Linked DNA regions of Homo sapiens: region 1 is linked to region 2. The links are contacts of gene promoters, found by promoter capture Hi-C in blood cells and fetal thymus (Javierre and others, 2016). All regions are on one chromosome and are shown on one strand. Each heading gives the region's core, a stretch centred on a gene start or on the middle of the fragment in contact. The rest is flanking DNA. Distances are from core to core; before and after follow the strand shown.

What was found. Contacts are between HindIII fragments. The CHiCAGO score rates a contact against its expected background, and 5 or more counts as called.
Region 1: a contact is called between a fragment that was not itself captured here and the fragment with the promoter of ADAMTSL1 in region 2, in 1 of 17 cell types (endothelial precursors). The highest score is 7.4, in endothelial precursors.

The regions. Positions count from the first base shown.
Region 1 is chr9:19,009,672-19,014,977 of GRCh38, forward strand. All of the region lies in intron 1 of SAXO1 (stabilizer of axonemal microtubules 1), which reads right to left. Among named protein-coding and RNA genes, the nearest start is that of SAXO1, 21 kb to the right of the region's middle. The HindIII fragment of the contact is 5,353 bases long and covers 1,047-5,306 here.
Region 2 is chr9:18,471,692-18,476,771 of GRCh38, forward strand. ADAMTSL1 (ADAMTS like 1) reads left to right here and starts at 2,462. Exons shown (of 29, transcript NM_001040272.6): 1 at 2,462-2,604. The coding sequence starts at 2,542. The HindIII fragment of the contact is 3,309 bases long and covers 1,313-4,621 here.

The DNA of each region.
Region 1 (5,306 bases), core at 2,473-4,972, 540 kb after region 2:
GCACTCTGCCTACTAAAACAGCTGTGAGAAATCCTGACCTGCTTACACTCTTTCATTACCAAAGCCAGTCAGATTTTCCTTTACTCATGCAATTTCCATCACCTCAAAAAGAATATTCACCGTCTAAAGAGGTGAAGTCCATTAAAGTTTTGGGGTTTTCTTTTTTTTTTTTTGAGACAAGGTCTTGCTCTGTCACCCAGGCTAAAGTGCAGTGGCACCATCTCTGCTCACTGCAACCTCCGCCTCCTGGACTCAAGCTATCTTTCCACCTCAGCTTCCCAGGTACCAGGAACTACAGGTGCATACCACCACATCTGGCTAATTTTTTTGTATTTTTTGTAGAGACAGGGTTTCGCCATGTTGCTCAGGCTGATCTCGAACTTCTGGGCTCAAGGGATCCACCAGCCTTGGCCTCCCAAAGTGCTGGGATTTCAGGCGTGAGCCACTTTGCCTGGCCTACATTTTTAATCTAAAAAAAAACAACAACAACAACAAAAACACCTTATATAAAAGTTGAAACCTAGTAAGGTTTATTTTCACTTATCTGCACCTTACCCTTCCCAGGACGTTCTAAAACTCCTCAGGCAACCAGTGCCACGTGCAGTAGAGGGGTGGCCCTGGCACATGGTCATGGCCACATTTTTAGGGCTGGAACCCACATTTCCTGCATGCTTCTGAATCAGTCTTTCCATCAAGCTCCCTTCTGATGGGAAATAAAAGATAATCCAGGGGCTATTTGCTGTTTCTTTACACACCTCTGGTCCTACTAAACAAATATCCCATGTAACCAGGTTCCATATTTCTAGGAAAAAAAAAAAAGAAACCCTATAGTCTTTTAGAACCTGGCCAAGAATGTTAGGAGCAGAAAGATCCTGACCACCCGAAACAGTGAAGTTGTCCCAAAGCCCTTTCTTGTTAGTCCTGGTAAAGGCCCTTCTGTACTCTTTACTTGTTTATATAGAAATATATTATTTGGCTAGCTGACTCTCCAGAATAGAAGCAACTTATTTTAAAAACGGGTTAAAAAAGACAATTACAGGCAGGTAAGCTTATCAAAGAAATCAAGAAGGTATACAACAGTATTCTAGGAAATTTTCTTTCAATGTGATTACCAGGGGCAGTGAGGAGGGGAAACCTTTCCTTTCTCAATAGGACCACATAAAGGAAACCTTTTATTAGACCCAATTACTATAATTACCACCAAATATTGAACATTTAGCTATATGCCAGGCTGTACATTAAGTGCTTGACATACATTACCTGGTACAATCTCTTCAATATCCCCATTTTACACATCAGGGAACTAAGGCCCAGAAAGGTTTTTAAAAGTTCACATCTGTCTAACTCCAGAGTCTCTAACCTCTTCACTACACTACAGTATCCTGCATTGCTTTCTAATTGTTTTATGTAGATGTTTCAGTTGCATAGATTTTAAATTCCCTAAAAAAGTAAAAGTTAAGTATTCTACTTACCCTAATAGCACCCTAAACCTAAGCCAAGTTCAGAGCACTAAAAAGGCTTTTAAATACATGCGTGACTGAACTTCAGTATCAAATAACTCATTTTCTGACTGTCCCATTTCTCCAAATCCTATCAAACTACCTGCTGAGGCATTTGAGCCCATTGCCACTTTCTAACGAGGGAGGCAAGAATGGGCACAACCCCACAGTGTCACTAAACACTCATGCCCTGCTTCATCTCTTGCACTGGGAACCCCAAGGCCATAGATGACTTAAACAAAACATGGCTGAAAGAGACACGCCCGATGCACATGCAGATTGTCCCCTAAATTGAGCACATGAATAAAACTTACCCAAAGTTTTCATAAGCATCCAAGTTTCTTGTGTGCCCAGAGCTAAACCCTAAATTGTAGGGCCCAAGGCTAAGTCAACATCCTATCGGCAAATTGGTGGAAAGTAGGGTCAAAACTAGGATTTGGATAGATGGGTAGATACACCGACTCAGTATTAGTTTTACCTAATGGAATATGGCTATGTTATTCAACCCAAACTGATGGAAAAAATTACCAGTTTTAACAACCAAATCCAGTTTTTAAATAACACAAAATCTAAGTATGCCAATTACGAACCACTTCAGCTCTTTCTTCCTCCCTCCTCTTCTTTCTCAAATTCCATATTCTTACTAAACCATTTCAATTTTACCATTATTAAGCATAGATTTTTTTTTTTTTTTGAGATGGAGTCTCATTCTGTCGCCAGGCTAGAGTGCAGTGGCACAATCTCAGGTCACTGCAACCTCTGCCTCCCAGGTTCAAGCAATTCTCCTGCCTCAGCCTCCCAAGTAGCTGGGACTACAGGCGCAGGTCACCATGCCCGGCCAATTTTTGTATTTTTAGTAGAGACGGGGTTTCACCATGTTGGCCAGGATGGTCTCGATCTCTTGACCTCATGATCCGCCCACCTTGGCCTCCCAAAGTGCTGGAATTACAGGCGTGAGCCACCACGCCCGGCAAGGATAGATTTTTTTTAATGAGAGAGGAAAAAAGATGAGGCATATAGATGTTTGTTTTCTTTTGACCAAAGGCAAATAAAGAGAAGAAAAACTAGAGAAAATAAGATTTAGAGCCTTTTTCTCTCATCTATACCACTTACCATCTGGGGGTTAAGAGCTAGTTTTACTTTCTGAAACCTCTGCAATCTCTTTAGGGACAGTTAGAGGCGCTAGGGCGCCTCACCCCTAATCCTCCCCAAATCCTTAGGTCTGAATTATTAAAATAATCTGTAATAGACAACTGTAAATAGGACCTAGAGTGAAAAATGCTACATGTGAATGTAATCAACTTTGTGGTGTTGGTATATCTAAAGATATGTCAATGTGGCACGAACCATATGGGGGACGGTGGGCACAGAGTTAGATGGGCAACTCTAGCAAGGTACCTACAAGCACTGTCTGGATAAGGAGGCCTGGCAGAGGGGCTCAACCCACCCAGTCCCTAATCTCAGAAGGATACATCAGAACGTGCAAATGGCAGCAGTCCCCTTGCTTAGAACTCAGACAAGCAACCTGTGATTATATTTTGGCTTACTTTTAATTTTTCTAAACAGAAAGTATACTCTGACCAGCAAAAATGAGTTTCTAGGCACTCTCAGTAGATCTGTCTCATTCTAAATAAATTGGCATTTCAGTTTACACAGCAGTCTGTATTAGCCAGGTTAATATTAAGGGAGGCGCTGCGGAGCTCAGGGGGCTGCTCTCTCAGGGTGCTGACAGAAATCAAGATTCTGCACCAACAAAAAGCACCATCAAGTAATGCTAGGCTGTGAGGTTGTTTCTATAGGTCACGCTTTTCTCTAGAAACAACCCTGCCTCATCAGGCCTCTGCCAACCTTTCACAACCTCCACCTAGGCTGAAGGTGGCTCCAGAAGCTACACACAGGCACCTCTTGCATGCCTTTTCATCAAACTGGCCTTCCAGATAGATCCTGGAGGGGAACCACACCAAAAAAAAAAGGAATTTGTGAAAGACTAAATACACTTGATCTTAGCCAAAAGGCCGAGAAGCGATGAAAGACTAAATAACAGCACAAGGCATAAGGCATAAGGCATGGCAATTCAGCACACGAAATGCAGGTGGGTGCCTAAAGATCTTCACCACTGCGGGGGTAACAAAGCCAGGCTATAATAGCAGATTTTGCAACGCCAGTCCCTTTTACTTTCTTAGAGATTAGATTGCCCTCTTGTGGGAAATAGGAGGGGAAAGTTTCACAGTATTTCCCCTTACCTTTTTCCATGATGGCTATAGATAGAACACATCCTGTCTCAGGGCAAGAGCTGACCATTACCATTTAGGAATGCAGTCACAATACTGTCACGTCTTTTGGTATTTCAGAAGAAACTAAAAGTACGGATTTTTTTTTTTTTTTTTTTTTTTTGAGACAGAGTCTGGCTCTGTCACCCAGGCTGGAATGCAGTGGTACAATCTCCGCTCACTGCAACCTCTGCCTCCCGGGTTCAAGTGATTCTCCTGCCTCAGCTTCCCAAGTAGCTGGAATTACAGGCGTGCATCACCATGCCTGGCTAATTTTTGTATTTTTAGTGGAAACGGGTTTTCACCATGTTGGCCAGGCTGGTCTTGAACTCCTGACCTCAGGTGATCCACCCGCCTCGGCCTCCCAAAGTGTTAGGATTACAGGTGTGAGGCGCCACGCCCAGCCCAGATATTTAAAACTCATGAGATTTTACATGTTAGCAGCCAATATGCACTTTTTAGAAAAAATATTTAGCAGGCACCCAGTTCGTGAGCTGGGCATGTTAGTCTGTAACAGAGTCTGGTGAGTCTGAAATACAGGTTGTCAGTATAGTTAATAACAACGTATGAATAAAGTTAGTATACAGAGAGTTAAACGTCCTCAGGATAGTTTGGTGAGCCTGGAACACAGGCAGCATGAGGAGGAATGGCTGGAAAGGTAGAGTAGGGGCTTGATTAAGGGTAGAATTTGTTCTGTAATCAATGGAGAACTATCAAAGGCTTTAAATTGGCAAAAATCACCGGGTACGGTGGCTCACACCTGTAATCGCAGCACTTTGGGAGGCTGAGGTGGGCAGATCACTTGAGGCCAGGAGTGCAAGACCAGCCTGGCCAACGTGGAGAAACCCTATCTCTACTGAAAATACAAAAACTTAGCTGGGCGTGGGGGTGGGCACCTGTAATCCCAGCTACTCGGCAGGCTGAGGCACAAGAATCCCTTGAACCTGGGGGGCAAGGTTGCAGTTAGCTGAGATCACGCCACTGCACTCCAGCCTGGGCAACAGAGCGAAACTGTGTCTCAAAAAAAAAAAAAAAAAGTTAATTAATTAAATTTTAAAAATTTAAAAAAAAATTGGCAAAATTGCCTGATAGGAGTTTTAGAAAAATTGCTATCGGAAATATCACTGACTAGCCCCAGATAGAGGAGTGAAAATAGAACCAAGTAGCTCAAAGAAGCCACCAAACATACTTTGAAACTACAAGATGCTTTGTCAGTGGATAGGATCTTCTTTCATAGATTTAAGACTTCCTCTGAGAGGGGCTTAGAGGCTCAGGAGGTCCACAGCTTTGTCACAGGTATTACCTACCTGTTGTCTCCTCCGTTCCTGGGGAACAACTGAATGTTGGACAACATCCAACCATAGAGGCTCTACATGAAAAATAAAGCCAGTGCTGCTGAGGGTCAGTGTTCCCTCTTCCTGCCGGGGTTAGGAAGTCAAGACCAATAAACAAGACCAGTGAAGAGACCTCAGAGATCGTGAAAACATAAAAACCTCCCCTTGAGTTTTCTCTAATACTTAAGGGGGTGGAGAGTAAA
Region 2 (5,080 bases), core at 1,212-3,711:
TGCTGTGAGGAATCAGAAGCATGAGACAGTGTGGTGGGCATCCTCCAGGCATTCAACAGGTGATTGAGGGCTTAACTTTAAAATAGTATATTATTCGGTGACTTCATTGAGATGACCATCTTGCTGTACATTAGCATGCCCATTAAAACTTCAAGGCAGAAATTTCTGACTCAAAATACCTAGGCAGTATTTATTTGCAAAGCAGAAAAGAATCTAAACTAGCATGTAAGTGGTTCCCAGTTATTTTCTGACCATGCTGATTATTTTTCTGTTCCTCTACAAATAGTATCTCATCATTAGCTTTGTTGCTACTTTTCTTTCTCCCATTACCTATTCTTCCCTTTGGATCTGCTTAATGAGCAGGGTTTATGTGTGAAGAGGGAGGAGGTGGTATTAGGTAAAATGTTCCATTAATAGAACTAGCTGAAACTCTTCAGTTAATGACTGTGATAGGAGGGAAAAAAATAAACCCTTTAGCAGAAAGCTCTGGTGTGTAACAGAGAGACACATGTAACATAGCTTTATGAATGAAAGTTTATTTCAATCAATCACCTTTCTTTAATGTGATGAGGATTTCAGACAAAAACAATAGTGGAAAGACAAAGTTAAGCATTTTTACATCTACTTGTGAATACGCTTTAGCTTATGAGCATTAGCTAGTTTTTGAGAGATTTGTAAAACAAATCTTTCTAAAAGGGAAAAGCATATTTCAAGAATGGGCTCTCTTTGTTATGGATTTGTACTGTCCATTTTTCTAGGTCCACATACTTAATATTGAGAACAAAGGATAATCTTTGTATGACCTTGACTTTCCTAACAGCATGAAAATAGGATTTTTAAAGTTTCTCTCTCTTTAATTGATATACCATATGAAGTAGGTAACCTAAAGTTGAACAACCTGCTTTTCTTCACCTTTTTGAAAAGCAACGCAGCAGGTATGTACATAGGCAGACCTGCCTGTATTCACATGCCCATTATGGCTTGATCAGGTTTTCCATATTCGTGTGTTTCATACCTCTTGTCAGTATTTTTTAATAATGAAAGGAAAGAACATTAATTCTAAATGTCTTGTACCTCCACTGCATATATTTCTGGGCTATCAGGAGATCTGAAAAGGGAAAACGTCCTGATGACACACCTATGGCAATGTAAGGCCAGGGCTGCTCTTTTATTCTTTCAAAACTCAATGATTTCCTTTGCAGATAAGGGGAAATACATCCTTGTTTGACATTTGACACTTTTCTAAAACTGTAATAAAACCTTCCTCTAGTAGAGTCAAATCTCCCTTGCTGGTGGATTAAGCAGCTTCAGAAGCTTCCTGACCTTCTCGTTGCTGTTGCTGGCCTTGTCGTCATTTCACTGCTCATTAGCACTTCCTTCAGGGCTGGACTGGCCTCCAAGGTCATCCCATCCAACCCTCTTGCAATAGTGGATGGAAAAATGAGGTAAAACTCAGTTCAGCCTTTTCTGCATTATAACAGCTCTGATAAAGGACGTGGGTGAGGTGCGGAGGAAGCTGAAACTTGGTTAAAAGAAGGTTTGGGGATTAACTGAGGATTTAATTCATCCTTTCTTTCTCTCCCGTGGCTAAAATAGATAGTTGAGAGTTGGCAGTGCATCAAAACCAGGCTGCTCCTCAACCCCAAATTTCAGCCCCACTCATCCTGGAGTCTTTGTTGAGGGTTTCTTTTTAAACTGGGGGATCTAAGTTTCTAATTGTGCCTTTACAATTAGCAAATCTTAAATGCCTTCAATTGTCACTTTACAGAGAAGCAACTTGCTTTGTTTTTTTCCCCCCAAATTAAGTCCTTAATAACACAAAATAACTTATGCCACTGTTTAGGCTTAGTGAGGAACCTTCAGAAAATGTATAGAGTATTTATTTTGCAAGTCAAGAGAGAAAGTAAAGAGGAACTTTATGGAGGCGAAATAAAACAGTTGTACAGAACACATTTACAGGGCACATTAAGTCGGTTTTTGTCTATGGTTCTTTCCCTTTATGGCATATGTTATATATTGACAGGGATTAAGTTTCTCTCCTGAATGGAACAATACACAGTCACAGGGAGCTACTGTACTTTACAAAGCAACAGACATCAGCACAGGCAAATGGCAAATAGAAATGCATCTCACAAAGAACTAACCAGGTCCATGGGAAGCACAGTGCTTGGCTTCATCTTTTGCAATTCTGCATCTTTTGCATTTCCCTTCTCGCTCTGCTGCTCGCTCGCCTTTCTTTTTCGTCCTTTTCCCCCTTTTTTGCTCGCACCGTTACACTTTCTCTGTCCTCCTGGCTTTGTTATTCAGCATGTCTGATTAGCAGGAGCCTGATTGGCTGGCTGCCTGCTCCGAGAGAGATTCCATTCAGCTTACCCCCCACCCATCCACCCACCCACCCCTCGGTCAGGAAATGTGAGAGGGGCTGATGGAAGCTGATAGGCAGGACTGGAGTGTTAGCACCAGTACTGGATGTGACAGCAGGCAGAGGAGCACTTAGCAGCTTATTCAGTGTCCGATTCTGATTCCGGCAAGGATCCAAGCATGGAATGCTGCCGTCGGGCAACTCCTGGCACACTGCTCCTCTTTCTGGCTTTCCTGCTCCTGGTAAATGCCTTTTCATTTCAATGCATTGCTATTGCCATTGAGTCTGGGTGCTGTTGGGGGTGTGTGTGTGTATGTGTGTTTGTGTGTGTGTGTGTGTCTTTATCTTAAAACTCCAGGTAAAATAATTTACACGATTACAAAGAGAGAATACTCCTTCTAGAACTTTTAACCTCAACTTCCCAAGCAAGATAAAGTCTGCAAGACTTTCTGGAATTAGTTACTGCTATACAGTAATACTGATACTGAGACATGAACTTTGGGACATACTGCATGGAGTTTGGGAGCTGAGGACTGTATATATGGTGGTGTGTATGCTTGGAATTTGGATAACAGACATCCTGAAATTAAACTCACTCACTGTGGTGTTCCTGGAATTTTTTGATGGATAGGCTTTGCAGAGCTTGCCCGTACCGCCTTTAATGAATTACTTTCCATCTATGCACATGTACTATGGAACCAGGTAAAGAGGGGAATGAGAGCCTCTTTGCAGCCAACCCAGATTATGGCTCTTAATTACTGCAAGTCATTTATGGATAGAAGTTAATGCTAGGATTTATGAATTGAGGATTATGGCCTTTGATCTCAAATTTACTTTTAAAGAAGAAAAAGGAATGGTGACTTTTAGTACGGCTGATTGCCACAGTCATAGTGATAAGATGCTCTGCTCTTGAACGTCAGTACACATTGCATTTTTGACTCGAAGTAAATGTTCCGTTGTGACTCATACTTGGTTTTATGGGCAGAAAATGAACATTTACTGTCCAAAATAAATCTACACTCAAAATATTAATAGCAATGCACATTTTTTAAACCAGAGTGTTCTGGGCAGGCAGCTTAGTAAACCTCATCTGAAGGTTTGATTCCAAAATTTGCACACACTGATCCAAACAAATGTGATTGTAGTTTTTCCTGTCACATTTATAACATGCCAGAACTTCCTCAGAAGGTAACAAGGCAGGAAGAGAACAAGGTAAAAATGTAGCAAATGAATAGGTTGCATTGATTCCTTGATGGGGAAGGAATGTTTGTTCTGATTATATTCTGACAAATCTGATCTGCGCTATAATTTTGAAGTAGGGAAGAAAGCCATTTGGTACAAACTGAAAAAGTCCAGGAGATTCATCAAATAGAGTAATCAGACAGTGATTCAATATTTTATACATTCCCACTTCTTAATGATTTGCATCATTGTAGCTAAGAAATTATAATGCTGCATTGCAAGTGCTATAAATATAGAAATAAATTTTTAATTTTTCATAGAAATTTAAAGGTAAACTACATTTCAAGCATGAATGAACTATAAGTTTTAGCTGTTCTGAAAAATACAAAGAACAGAATGTTTAGGTATGCTTTATGACTTGTGGAGCAAGCGATTTATGAAAGGTGTCTCATTTTTTCCATATGGGATGTGTTACTTGTATACACCATTAGTTTGTCTCATCTTTCCTTCTTTGTGATTTTTTTAAGTGTGTGTTATTTTCCCATTATATTGCATCATAAAGCAAATTACCAGTATACATTACTTTTTTGATATTTTCATATGGAAGTATGATCTCATTATACTTTAGTAAAACTTTCCCATTCAGGAATAGATTGTTTTGCTATCCATTTGGTAAACGCATTATATCCCTCTGTGATATCTTGAATATTCATATATGTATTAGAGCATATAATTTGACTTATGTGGAATGAAAAGGTATGTATGCTTATTTCAGAAGGACTTAAAACATATCATATTTAAATTACAATAATTGTATTATAAAGATAAAATTAAAACAAACCTAGGTTTGTTTTATGCCTGCATTTAAATTAAGTGGAAATCTGAGAGTTATGCTACAAAAGGAAGAACTGACTGATGTTTACATACATCCCTTTGCCAAGCAATAACAGCATTAGTAATAGCTGTCATGTATTTTGTGTCTGAATGTGGCTAGTTGTTTGAAAATCATTACAATAAATCCTTACAATAATCATACAGATAAGACATTTTAAACCCGTTTTTTCAGGCAATGAAATAAGCTTGCATTTGAACCCAAAGGTCAAATAATGGAGAGAATAGAACATGTTTGCTTCGTATGGTGGTTGTAAATATTTAAGAACAATGAAAACAGTGGTGCAGGTTGGTCTGTACCCTTTGTTGCAGATATTTAGGCTTTCTGCATCATCTTGATCATTAAAGATATGTACAATATCATGAGCACTTGTTAAACTTGCTCATTAACTGCCCCCTTTAGCATTAAATTTAATTATTGGCTTAAGAGATTGTGACCTTTAGCCTGTTGTGTACTTGATTTAGAACTAGAAGTGTGGCATCATCAGCTCAACCTTCAAACTTGATAGAGAAATTGAATTGAGGGGCTTGTTTTTCCTATAGTCTTTTTTTTGTTTTTGTTTTCATTTACACATTGCAAGGATTCTGTCTATTCTTGGACTTATTTGGGGCAATTTCTAAAGGTCTCTGTAACTTAATTGGAAA